2 separate regions of the Homo sapiens genome follow, and region 1 is linked to region 2. Evidence: promoter capture Hi-C in human tissues and cell types (Jung and others, 2019). All regions are on one chromosome and are shown on one strand. Each heading gives the region's core, a stretch centred on a gene start or on the middle of the fragment in contact. The rest is flanking DNA. Distances are from core to core; before and after follow the strand shown. Region 1 overlaps SLC22A16 (solute carrier family 22 member 16). Region 2 holds the start of SLC22A16 (solute carrier family 22 member 16).

The links. Contacts are between HindIII fragments. The study calls those that stand out against the background at their distance.
Region 1: a fragment that was not itself captured here is called in contact with the fragment with the promoter of SLC22A16 in region 2 in 3 of the 25 tissues and cell types used here (IMR-90 fibroblasts, dorsolateral prefrontal cortex and spleen).

What each region holds. Positions count from the first base shown.
Region 1 is chr6:110,441,404-110,446,417 of GRCh38, forward strand. SLC22A16 (solute carrier family 22 member 16) reads right to left here. Exons shown (of 8, transcript NM_033125.4): 4 at 841-1,372. Among named protein-coding and RNA genes, the nearest start is that of DDO, 28 kb to the left of the region's middle. The HindIII fragment of the contact is 6,907 bases long and covers 1-5,014 here.
Region 2 is chr6:110,474,348-110,480,054 of GRCh38, forward strand. It overlaps SLC22A16 (solute carrier family 22 member 16), which reads right to left and starts at 2,266. Exons shown (of 8, transcript NM_033125.4): 1 at 2,175-2,266. The coding sequence starts at 2,227. It overlaps LOC105377938 (a long non-coding RNA gene), which reads left to right and starts at 1,170. Exons shown (of 2, transcript XR_942860.3): 1 at 1,170-1,315; 2 at 4,962-5,089. The HindIII fragment of the contact is 19,647 bases long and covers 1-5,707 here.

The DNA of each region.
Region 1 (5,014 bases), core at 984-3,483, 33 kb before region 2:
TTTGGAGAATTGTAACAGGAGATGAAACACGGTTTTACGAGTCTGATCCTGAAGACAAAGCCCAACCAAAGCAATGGTTACCAAGGGGGGCCATGGTCCTGTCAAAGCAAAAGTGGACCAGTCGAAAGCAAAGGTCATGGCAACGTTTGTTGGGGATGCTCAAGGCATTTTGCTTGTTAGCTTTCTGGAGGGCCAAAGAATGAAAATATCTGCTTATGAGGAGAGTGTTTTGAGAGAGTTAACCAAAGCTTTTGTAGAAAAATGCCTGGGAAACATCACCAGAGAGTCCTTCTCCTCCATGACAATGGGCATGCTCATTCCTCTCATCAAACAAGGGCAATTTTGCAAGAGTTTTGATGGGAAATCACTAGGCAGCCACCTTAACAGTTCTCATGGTGGCTCATTCTGACTTCTTTCTGTTTCCTAATCTTAAAAAGTCTGTACGCGGCACCCATTTTTCTTCAGTTAATAGTGTAAATAAGACTGCATTGACATGGGTACATTCTCAGGACCCTCAGTTTTTTAAGGATGGAATAAATGGCTGATGTCGTACAAAAGTGTCTTGACCTTGATGGCAATCATGTTGAGAAAGTTTATGTTTTAAATTTTTGTCTTTTAATGCCATTTTTCCATGAACTGGTTGAAGTCCCCTCATATGTACATGTGTTACAACATAACACTAAGAGATATCATAATAATATGGTTGGCAGTATTGTTCCTGGTTTTAAAGGGCCTATTAAAAACATTCTTTTTCTCAAATTCACACAGAAACAGACACACACACACAAATGGTAGAAATCTCACTTCACTGCCAAATTTAAATATACTGTAACTACTTACCCAGGAGGAAGAGGTTTAAGTATTCATTGCCTCCTAAGTTAACAGAATTCAAGGAAAACGAGTAGAATCCCAAACTTCCAGTGAACCAGATTAGCCAAACGGTAAGTGTCCTTTTCGTAATGCTCCAGTTATAAAACAGATATGATAGGTTGTGCTTCTGAACTTCAGTGGGGCTATTACTAACAGGACCTTGTAGGTCCAGTGATAAAAGTTCTGACAGTTTACAGGAGCTTGCCCTGTTCCACTTGGCCATGATGTCAACTATTTTTTGTGCTTCTTCATATCGTCCCTCTGAGAGAAGCCAAAAAGGTGTCTCTGGGAGCACCCAACAGCACAGGATAAAGGGGACAGTCACTGTGGAGAGGATCATCTGGTAAAGCCACCAGGTCCTGACCAAGTATCCTGTCAAAGCCACCAGCAGGGTTCCAACTGCAAAAAAGGAATGCAAATGGACAGACGCCCATGTCCGAGACTTCATGCCAATGAATTCCATCACATAGACAAACCCCACCACAAGATAGCCACTTGCAACCTGAAAAACAAATAATAGGGATTTATATTCAAGGTCACATTTATAACTATTGAGGAGTCTGACCCCATTGCAAATCACATATAGGCAAAAAAGAAAATGACAAAGACTTGCTTTCTGAAACCCCTATCAGATGTATAAAATGACATTCAATCCGATCTATCTTTTTTTCTTATAGGTCCTTTCATCTTCCCTCATCCTCCCCACCCCAAATGGCAAAACTTGAGAGATTATTTATGATATAAATGTTAGACATTGTCTTTTGTGTCATCTAAATATTTCATTATACTGTGGATGTATTTCTCCATTCCTTGTAAATGCATACATCAAGTTATCTGTATCCAGGAGGTCCTTATTGTTAAATCCTAACTGCTAAATGGAGACAAAAAAATTTACGCTAACTAGTGGTAAGAAAAACTGATTTAATTAAAATTCTATTTTGACAGGCAAAGAAGACAAATTAGACTTCATGAAAATTAAAACTGTGCATCAAAGAACACTATCAATGGAGGGAAAAGGCAACCTGCAGAACTGGATAAAATATTTGCAAATCAAATATCTGATAAGGGATTTTATGGAGAACTCCTAAAATCCAACAACAGCAAAAACACAGACAATCCAATTCAAAAATGGGCAAAGGCTTTGAACAGACATTTCAAACAGAAGAAATACAAATTTTTACCAATCATTGAGAAATGCAATTCAATGCTACAAAGAGATACCCCCTCATACACATTAGTGTGGCTAATTAAAAAAAAAAATAACAAGTTTTGGCGGGAATGTAGAGAAACTGGAACCCATGTGTAATATGTGAGAGAAATGTATAATGGCACAGCCTCTAGGAAAAACAGTATGACGATTCCTCAAAAAACAATTACAGCATGATCCAGCAATTCCACCTTTGAGTATATACCCAAAGGAATTGAAAGTGGGGTCTGGAAGAGATGTTTGCACATGCCTGCTCATAGCATTATTCACAACAGCTAAAGCATGGAAGCAACCCCCCAAGGGTCCGTCCATAGATGAATAGATAAGAAAAATGTAGTCTATGCATACAATGAATATTATGCTAAGGGAAATAAGCCAGTCACAAAAAGACAACTATCATATGATTCCGCTTTCATGAGGTACCTAGAGTGGCCAAACTCATAGAGACAGGATGTAGAATGGTGGTTGTCAGGGGCTAGGGAGACAGGGAACAGAGAGTTATTATTCAATGGACAGAGTTTCAGTTTTGCAAGATGAAAACGAGTTCTGAAGATGCACAGTGGTGATAATTGCACCACAGTATGAATGCACTTAATATCACTCAACTGTACACTTAAAAATGGTTAGGATGGTAAATTTTGTGTTATATGTACTTTACCACAAGAAGGAAAACTGGGGAAAAACTTTATTTTGGAAATATGACTATCTTTAATAAAAATTAGATTACAATATGTGATTAGAATATAATATGTGACCATTCTTGAAATAAACAAAGAATGAGTCCATTGATGGGTTTTTTGGGAGGAGGAGGGGAAGAATTTTTTCTACAAAATTTTTTCATATTTGACTTCTACAACACAAATCATACAATTAACTTTTGTAAAATTATTCGAGAGCACCACTCCCCAAAGGCTTCTCTTAATCATTAGATATTTGAATCATACTCTTTCAAAGGCTCATTATGTGATTATCCTTGCAGATGTTAATTTCTTCAAAAGTTAACAGGTCTCTCTGCCAGATCCCCACTGGCCAAAGGTTGTGGGCAGGATTCAGGCAGTGTTCCCCTGTTCCCTCACTGCTTTTAAAGACTTTTTGTAAACATGTGTCCCTTGTAATAACTGCAATTTCTCCTTGCATTGGACAGTCACAAAGAGGCCGGCCTACAAGGATATTCCTGCTGTCAGAAAGGGTTGACACTAGCAGGAGGCAGGGAGGTGCTTGATGAGGACTACTGTATTCATAATCAGTTTAATATTTTTGTGACAACAGCTTTTATTTCCCTGTGCAACTTTGTAATGGCAAGACTCAGATCATCGGGACCCTACATCTAACAATCCAGAAGTCGCTTTTGGTAAGCGCTGCTGTTACATTAACAAAGATTGTGATAACTTTCAAATACTATAAATTTCCCAGTTAAATTAAGCTGTAATATTTGTCCCTGTCAGGTTTTTCAATGCTAATTATTTCTCATGAGTCAGCTACAACTTCCTCTGTTATTGGATTCAGAAAATCCATATACAACTAACTCCAAAACACTCTGTGAATCCACTCACACCCATCCCTTCCACTGATAATAATACTCACATCTTCTCGGAATCCACCCCCTCATAGCAGCCAGAATTCCTGGAATCCCTTTTGTGGATTGCCATTGCCTTTAGGAGATAGAGCAAAATCCTGACAATCCTACAAAGCCCCACCTAACCGCCTTGATCCCTTCAGCCTCATCAATGCGTCTCTCCTCCTCTCTATTCTCCAGACATTCCGGCTTTTCTTTCTCATCTCAGGGCCCTTTCATCCACTTCTATCTTTGCTGGAATATTCTTCTCTCACCCATCCCTCACAGTGAGAAAACCCTTGACCCTCCAGACCCTGGTGAACGCTCCAGACCCACTGATGTTATGCCCTCACTGTCAACATTTTATTTATTTTTGAAGATGGCTGATCAACGTCTTGCCTTTCCTACTAGACTTACTGAGACAGCTGGGTCTGGTTTACTTAGCATTACACTCTGTAGACAGATCAATAAATGTGTTGAGTAAATGAATCTGCCTGCATCTCCCATCCACAGAATTCCCCCACAAATCCATTCCCCATGAACATCAACGGAAACAGTCACAGAAAATTAAGGCCACATTTCACGGATGTATTCTATGGGTGTGGCCTTGTTTCCTTGGGTATAGAAGCCAACGCGTGGTATTTTGCAAGACTGAAACAGATATTTTCAGAAATATCCTCTTAAGTCTTCCAAAAGATGATGTTTATACTTTCTTAGTACCTGTGCCTTTGTGGAGCCTTCAGTCCCACCAGAAGGTTTCTCTCGTGAAATCTCACTCTACAGTCACAGAGTTATGTCCTCAGTGGAAACAGAACTACTGGTTGCTATCTTGTATTTAAAACTCTTTACATTCCTAAATATATATATTTACTTTTTAATGAGGTACAACACCTTCCAGTCTCCTAGATTTATTTTTATGCATCTTCCTTATCCTTGGCCAACTGTATGGTTTGCTAGAAACCCTTTCTATCCATCAAAAAAGACTCCAAAACTGACACCCCATCTTGTTCTCTGAGGGGGTGCAGAGAGATTGAAGCCCTTTGCTTCTCTCCAGACCCTCAGACCATCCAACCTGCTGCTCTGCATTTAGCAAGATCACAAGCTCCTCCTCCAGATGGAAACTTCCCTCTATTATTCTTGATGTTGCTTGATAGTTGGAAATCTATCTGGAAGCCTCACTGAGCATGGAAACAGCCTCCTTGCTCGCTAGTCCATTTCTAGTAAGTTACCATTGTAATCAGGTGCTGTACTGCGGTTGTTTATACTTAATCTCACTGAATCCTGAGAATAATAATAATAAACACAGATTCTTTTCTACAGTTTACAGACTGCAACCAAAGGTTCAAAGAGGATACTGATCATACAACTAACAAGCCAATATA
Region 2 (5,707 bases), core at 1,016-3,515:
AAAGAGAGGACTAAATAATCATCACAATAACTTTCCTTTCTGTTTATAAAGAATAGATACCAATTAGAACAAATACCTGAGAAAAATGTGGTACTGTGTTGCAGTCACACAGTCTTCATCTTCTGCTATATAAGCAGTGGTTTGTTACCCTTTTCCCTCCTGTAAGCTGCTTTCACGAGTCAACCCTGACCACCAATATGGGAACTCAGGTAATGATAATAGCCATGACTTATTGAGAACTTACTGAATAATAAGACTTTTGCATACATTATGGTGGCCAGCTAAGAGCTGTCTCCTCAAACCCATTTGCCCCCTCTTCACCGTAGTGAGCTGTCACCATGGGTGCGCAGCTGCTCCAGGCACAGACAGGGAGCCCCATGCAGTGGATGACAGAGCTGTCCCACCTGCCAGGGTCCTTGAATGGTCTCGTGGCACAGATCCTGCTGTGGGCAGTTACTGGAGAGGCATAAACTTCCATTTGAGGAATCTGTTTGATTGGGCACTTTAGTCAAACACCAACTAATATAATTACCTCAGCTAATCCCTAAAAAACACAGGGGAACTAAGATGTAAGTACCACCTACCTCATTGAGTTACTGTAAGGATGAGAAACTGCATGCAGAGTCCTCATATACACATTTTCACTACTCCTATTTGAAAACATTTGTACTATTATTAGCCCCATTTTACAGATAAGAAAGTGGTAAATAAAATGCTCAAGACCGTATAGTTAATGTGTGGTAGCGCCAGAGTGGGAACTTAGACATCCAGCCTTAAAACTGATCTTTTAACCTCTGTGCTATTCTGCTTCCAGAAGGATGAAATGAGATCATACATAAAGAGCTTGGCCCAGCTGAGGAGCCGTCACCTAACCGTGCTCAGGAGTGCATCATGGTTGAGAGTGTGGGCTGTGGAGGTGATGGGCATCCAATGGCATCCAATTCTGCCCTGCTAGTATTAGATTTGTGCTTAGGCAGAAACCTTGGTTTTCTCATCTGTGAAAAGAGGGTGATACTACCAACCTTATAAGGCTGTAGTGAAGATTAAAGGAAGTAACATGTACCAACGGCTTATGACCGAGCCAGGCACAAGGCAGCGTTCAATGATGCAAGCAGAGGAAGAAGGGAACAGCTGGGGCTTCCTGCCCGTTTCCTCTGTCCTAACAGCTCCTTTTTGCAGACACTGGGAATCAAAACCAAAACGCATGCAACCTTCCACCTTGAAGAACAGCACCACATCATCTCTTTGCTAAGCCTGATTCCCGTTTTCTGGATAGGAAACTGACACACAAAGTATCTCCAGAATCATATCAGAGGTAAGTAGCAGGCCAGGATCGAGACGCAGCTCCAAATCTCCGGCCATAACGCTGCATGGCCCCTCACCCGGCTACCTCCCCTCTCAAAACACTCTGAGTCAGATAGAGGAGCTCTGTCCATGAGTGAACGAACGAATGAATAATTTAAATTTTTTAAATCAATTTGACAAATGAAAAGAGGGTGTACGGAGGTTAAACGTGGTTCCACCATGCGTTGGCTATGAGTCCTTGACCCCGCCAGCTTGTTTCCCAATCACTAAAATAAGGATTTGAACACCTCCTTTGCAGGGTCCCGGTGAACATCAAATGAAGAACTATGTGTAAGCGCCAGGTACAGTGTACCTGGCACGTATTAGGTTTTAATAAACGGCAACCAACTCTGACTAACGGTTGTCCCTGGGGAACACCTGCCAGGCACAGAGGGAGGCCCTACGGAGGCGCAGGGCAGAACTGGGCAGCAGCCGTCTAGGGAAGTGGCGGCGGATTAGAGAAACGGGCGGCCAGGCACAGGCACCCCCTACGAGTGAGATCTGGCCCCTCGAGCCAGATCTCCAGCCAGATGCCTCCAGCATCTGCTGCCGCGGAGAGCACGCACCAGGTCCCTCCTGCCCGGCAACAGGCGCACTCCGAGCGAGCCCAGCGCCTCTGCTCACCATGCCAGGTCCCGCTGCCAGAGGCCTAGAGGAGAAGCCCAGCTAGGGGCCGGCGTCTGGACGCCCGTGTCCCGACTGCGCGGGGTGAGGAGGAAGTGGAGATGTTTTCGGATCGCGAGCGCCGCGCGAGAACCCCGCCGCAACGGAAAGAAACAGACCCCTCGGCGCCGCCTCCCGCGTGGCGCCGCGGGGCCCCTCCCCCATACCTGCCGAAGTGCCCCACGTGGTCATAAATCCCCTCGAAGTGGCGGGACCCCATGGTGCGGCCGTGCACTGGGCGCCGAGTTAGCCGAGCTCCGGGGACTGCGGGTAGCGCGCCCCGCCCCGAACCTCCCCGCCCGGCCTCCTGCTCTCCCCGCGCGTCCCAGTGCTCGGGACCAGCGCGAGGCTGTATTCTGTTCCTCCCTCCGTCGCTTGGCCCCTCGGTCCCCCCAAGTATCTTCGGCTTTTTTCCTGCCGCCTCGGCCTCCTTCCCGGCGCGCTGTGGTCCCGGCGCCCGCGGTCGCATGGTGCCCTCGCCCCCAGCGCCGCCGCTCTCCCACCCGCCCCGCCGCCCACCCTGGCTCTTGGCACCATGTCTGCGGGGTCGCCACGCTCGAGGGAAGCCCCGACGCCTGGGAAAAGTTGTCGCTGAGAGAGAGCCCAGGGTGGGAATGCAAGGGCTAGGCTCGGTCCGGGGGCCGCAAGAATATATAGCCTTCAGCATGACGCCCCTCAGAAACATGGCTCTCAAACTTTAATGCCTAAGAATCTACTGCAGAACTTGGTTTAAAAGGTACATTTAAGGCCGGGCGCACTTGCTCACGCCTGTAATCCCAGCACTTTGGGAGGCCGAGGCGGGCGGATCACCTGAGGTCGGGAGTTCAAGACTAGCCTGACCAACATGGAGAAACCCCGTCTCCACTAAAAATACAAAATTAGCCGGGCGTGGTGGCACATGCCTGTAATCCCAGCTACTCGGGAGGCTGAGGCAGAAGAATCGCTTGAACCCTGGAGACGGAGGTTGCGGTGAGCCAAGATCGTGCCATTGCACTCCAGCCTGAGGAACAAGAGTGAAACTCCGTCTCAAAAAAATAAAAGTACAATTAGGCCGGCGTGGTGGCTCAGGCCTATAATCCCAGTGCTTTGGGAGGCCGAGGCAGGAGGATTGCTGGAGCCAAGGAGTTTGAGACCAGCCTGGGCAACGTATAGCGACACCTCGTCTATACAAAAATAAAAAATAAATAAATGTACATTTATTTTGAGACTCCATCCCTGATGATTCAGGATGCCTGGGGAACAGGAATCTGATTTTTTTTTTTTTTTTTTTTTTTTTTTTTTTTTTTTTTTTTGAGACGGAGTCTCGCTCTGTCGCCCAGGCTGGAGTGCAGTGGTGCAATCTCGGCTCACTGCAAGCTCCACCTCCCGGGTTCAAACCATTCTCCTGCCTCAGCCTCCCAAGTAGCGGGGAGGTGCCCGCCACCACGTCCGGCTAATATTTTGTATTTTTAGTAGAGACGGGGTTTCACCGTGTTAGCCAGGATGATTTCGATTTCCTGACGTCGTGATCCGACCGCCTTGGCCTCCCGAAATCTGATTTTTAATAAGCAGACCATGGCATTCCAAGCCACACTTTGGAGTGGGCAGGGGTTTGGCCCATAGCCAACCCAGGCAGGGGGTGACCTTCCTTCTGGAAGGTATCAAGTGAATGAACTTTAGGGAAGAAAGGTCAATTGCTGGTCCACAGCGCTGAAGCAGAAAAGCCAGTTTCCGACTATATCCACAGTGAGAGTTGCCTTCTCTAGTCAGCCTGGCAGTCACTGGCCCCACTGTTGGCGTGCTATTCCACTCTATAAGGCCACTAAACCTTGAGTTCCTAGAGAACAGGGATGCATTCTCTTCGTCACTTTGGTAGCCTCAGTTCCATAGCAAATGCCCTCTCTCTGAACTTCTCCACCTCATCCTTAAAATCTGAGCACACCTATCGCTTTCTCAGAGAAGTCCAACAGTTTGAGGGCCAGGGCAGAGCTCTACCAGAGCAGAGCATCAAGAGTGGGTCTGATGGCTCCGAGAAGCGGCAGGATCTTGCAAGGCTGTGTTGAACATTTTACTTTGACCAAAGGACAAGGAGAACTCCCTGTAGACAGTCTTAAAGCAGAAGAGTAACAGGCGCAAACTTGTACTTGAATAATATTTGAAAGAGAGGAGAGTCCATTTCCCAAAGTGCTTCCCTCCCCTACTTGTCACAGAGCCTACAATAACACCATTAAAAATTGACTTATTTTTGTTATGCACAATCCTATCTAGACATTCTCTTCTGAAACATAAATACTCTTGGAAGGACTAATCCCTTAAGTAATAAACAACTTGGAGAGGGTTTTTAAATTAGATAGTTTCCTGCTAACTAAAGAGACTTAAGAAAGCCTAAGTTCTTCAGGTGAGGAATGCTAGAGGGATACAAGGTGGGGGGAAGATGAGAGGGTAGTGAGGAGTAGTTATGTCAAGGGCTGAGCCTAGGAGGAAAGGTGGGGGCCATGGCAGCCAGTCAAGACGCCATATTGCTTCAAAGCACCAAAGGGAGAGTTACCTGGAAAAGATATGGAGAAATTGAACTTTGATATGAACACTATTCTTATTACACCAGATAGAAATGTCACAATATGGATAAAATGGACAAATTACTGAAAAATACAATCTAACAACACTCAAGAAGAAATAGATAACCAAAATAGGCCTACATCTATTAAAGAAATTGAATATGCAATTAAAAACCTTCTGATATAGTTTGGATGTTTGTCCTCTCCAAATCTCGTGTTGAAATGTAGTCCCTAATGTTGGAGGTGGGGCCTGGTGGGAGGGGTTTGGATCATGGATCCTTCATGAATGTCTTGGTGCCATCCTCCCCAGTAATGAGTGAATTCTCAGTTATGAGTTCACACAATATCTGGTTGTTTGAAAGAGTCTGGAACTTCCTCCTCCTTCTCTCTTGTTCCTTCTCTCACCATGTGATTCAGGGACCGCTTCATCTTCTGCCATGACTGGAAGCTTCCTGAGGCCCTCAACAGAAGCAGATGCTGGCACTATGCTTCATGTACAGCCTACAGAACCATGAGCCAAATAAATCTCCTTTCTTTATAAATTATCCAGTCTCAGGTATTCCTTTATAGCAATGCAAATAGACTAACACATGTTTCCACAAAGAAAACCCCAGGGTTGGCCACGTGCAGTGGCTCACACCTGTAGTCCTAACACTTTAGGAGGCTGAGGCAGGAGGATCGCCTGAGTCAAGGAGTTTGAGACCAGCCTGGGCAACATGGTGAAACCTCATCTCTATAAAAAATGCAAAACATTTGGCCAGGCATCATGGTGCACGCCTGTTATCCTAGCTACTTGGGAGGCTGAGGTGGGAGGATTACTTGAGCCTGGAAGGTCGAAGCTGCAGTGAGCCGTGACTGGGCCACTGCACTCCAGCCTGGGTGACACAGTGAGACCCTGCCTCAAAAAAAAGAAAAAAGAAAAAGAAAAGAAAGAAAGCCCCAGAGTCAGACATTTAAGGTAGAAATAATATTGATTCTGCACAAACTGTTCAAGGAAGTTGAAGATGAGTGAATACGTCCCAAATCACTGAATGGTCCAGCATTACTCTGACATCAAAACCAGGTAAAGACCTTACAAGGCAAGAAAACTATACACCAATATACCTATATGAACATAGATGCAATAATTCTCAACAAAACTTTAGCAAATTGGATGTCTCTTT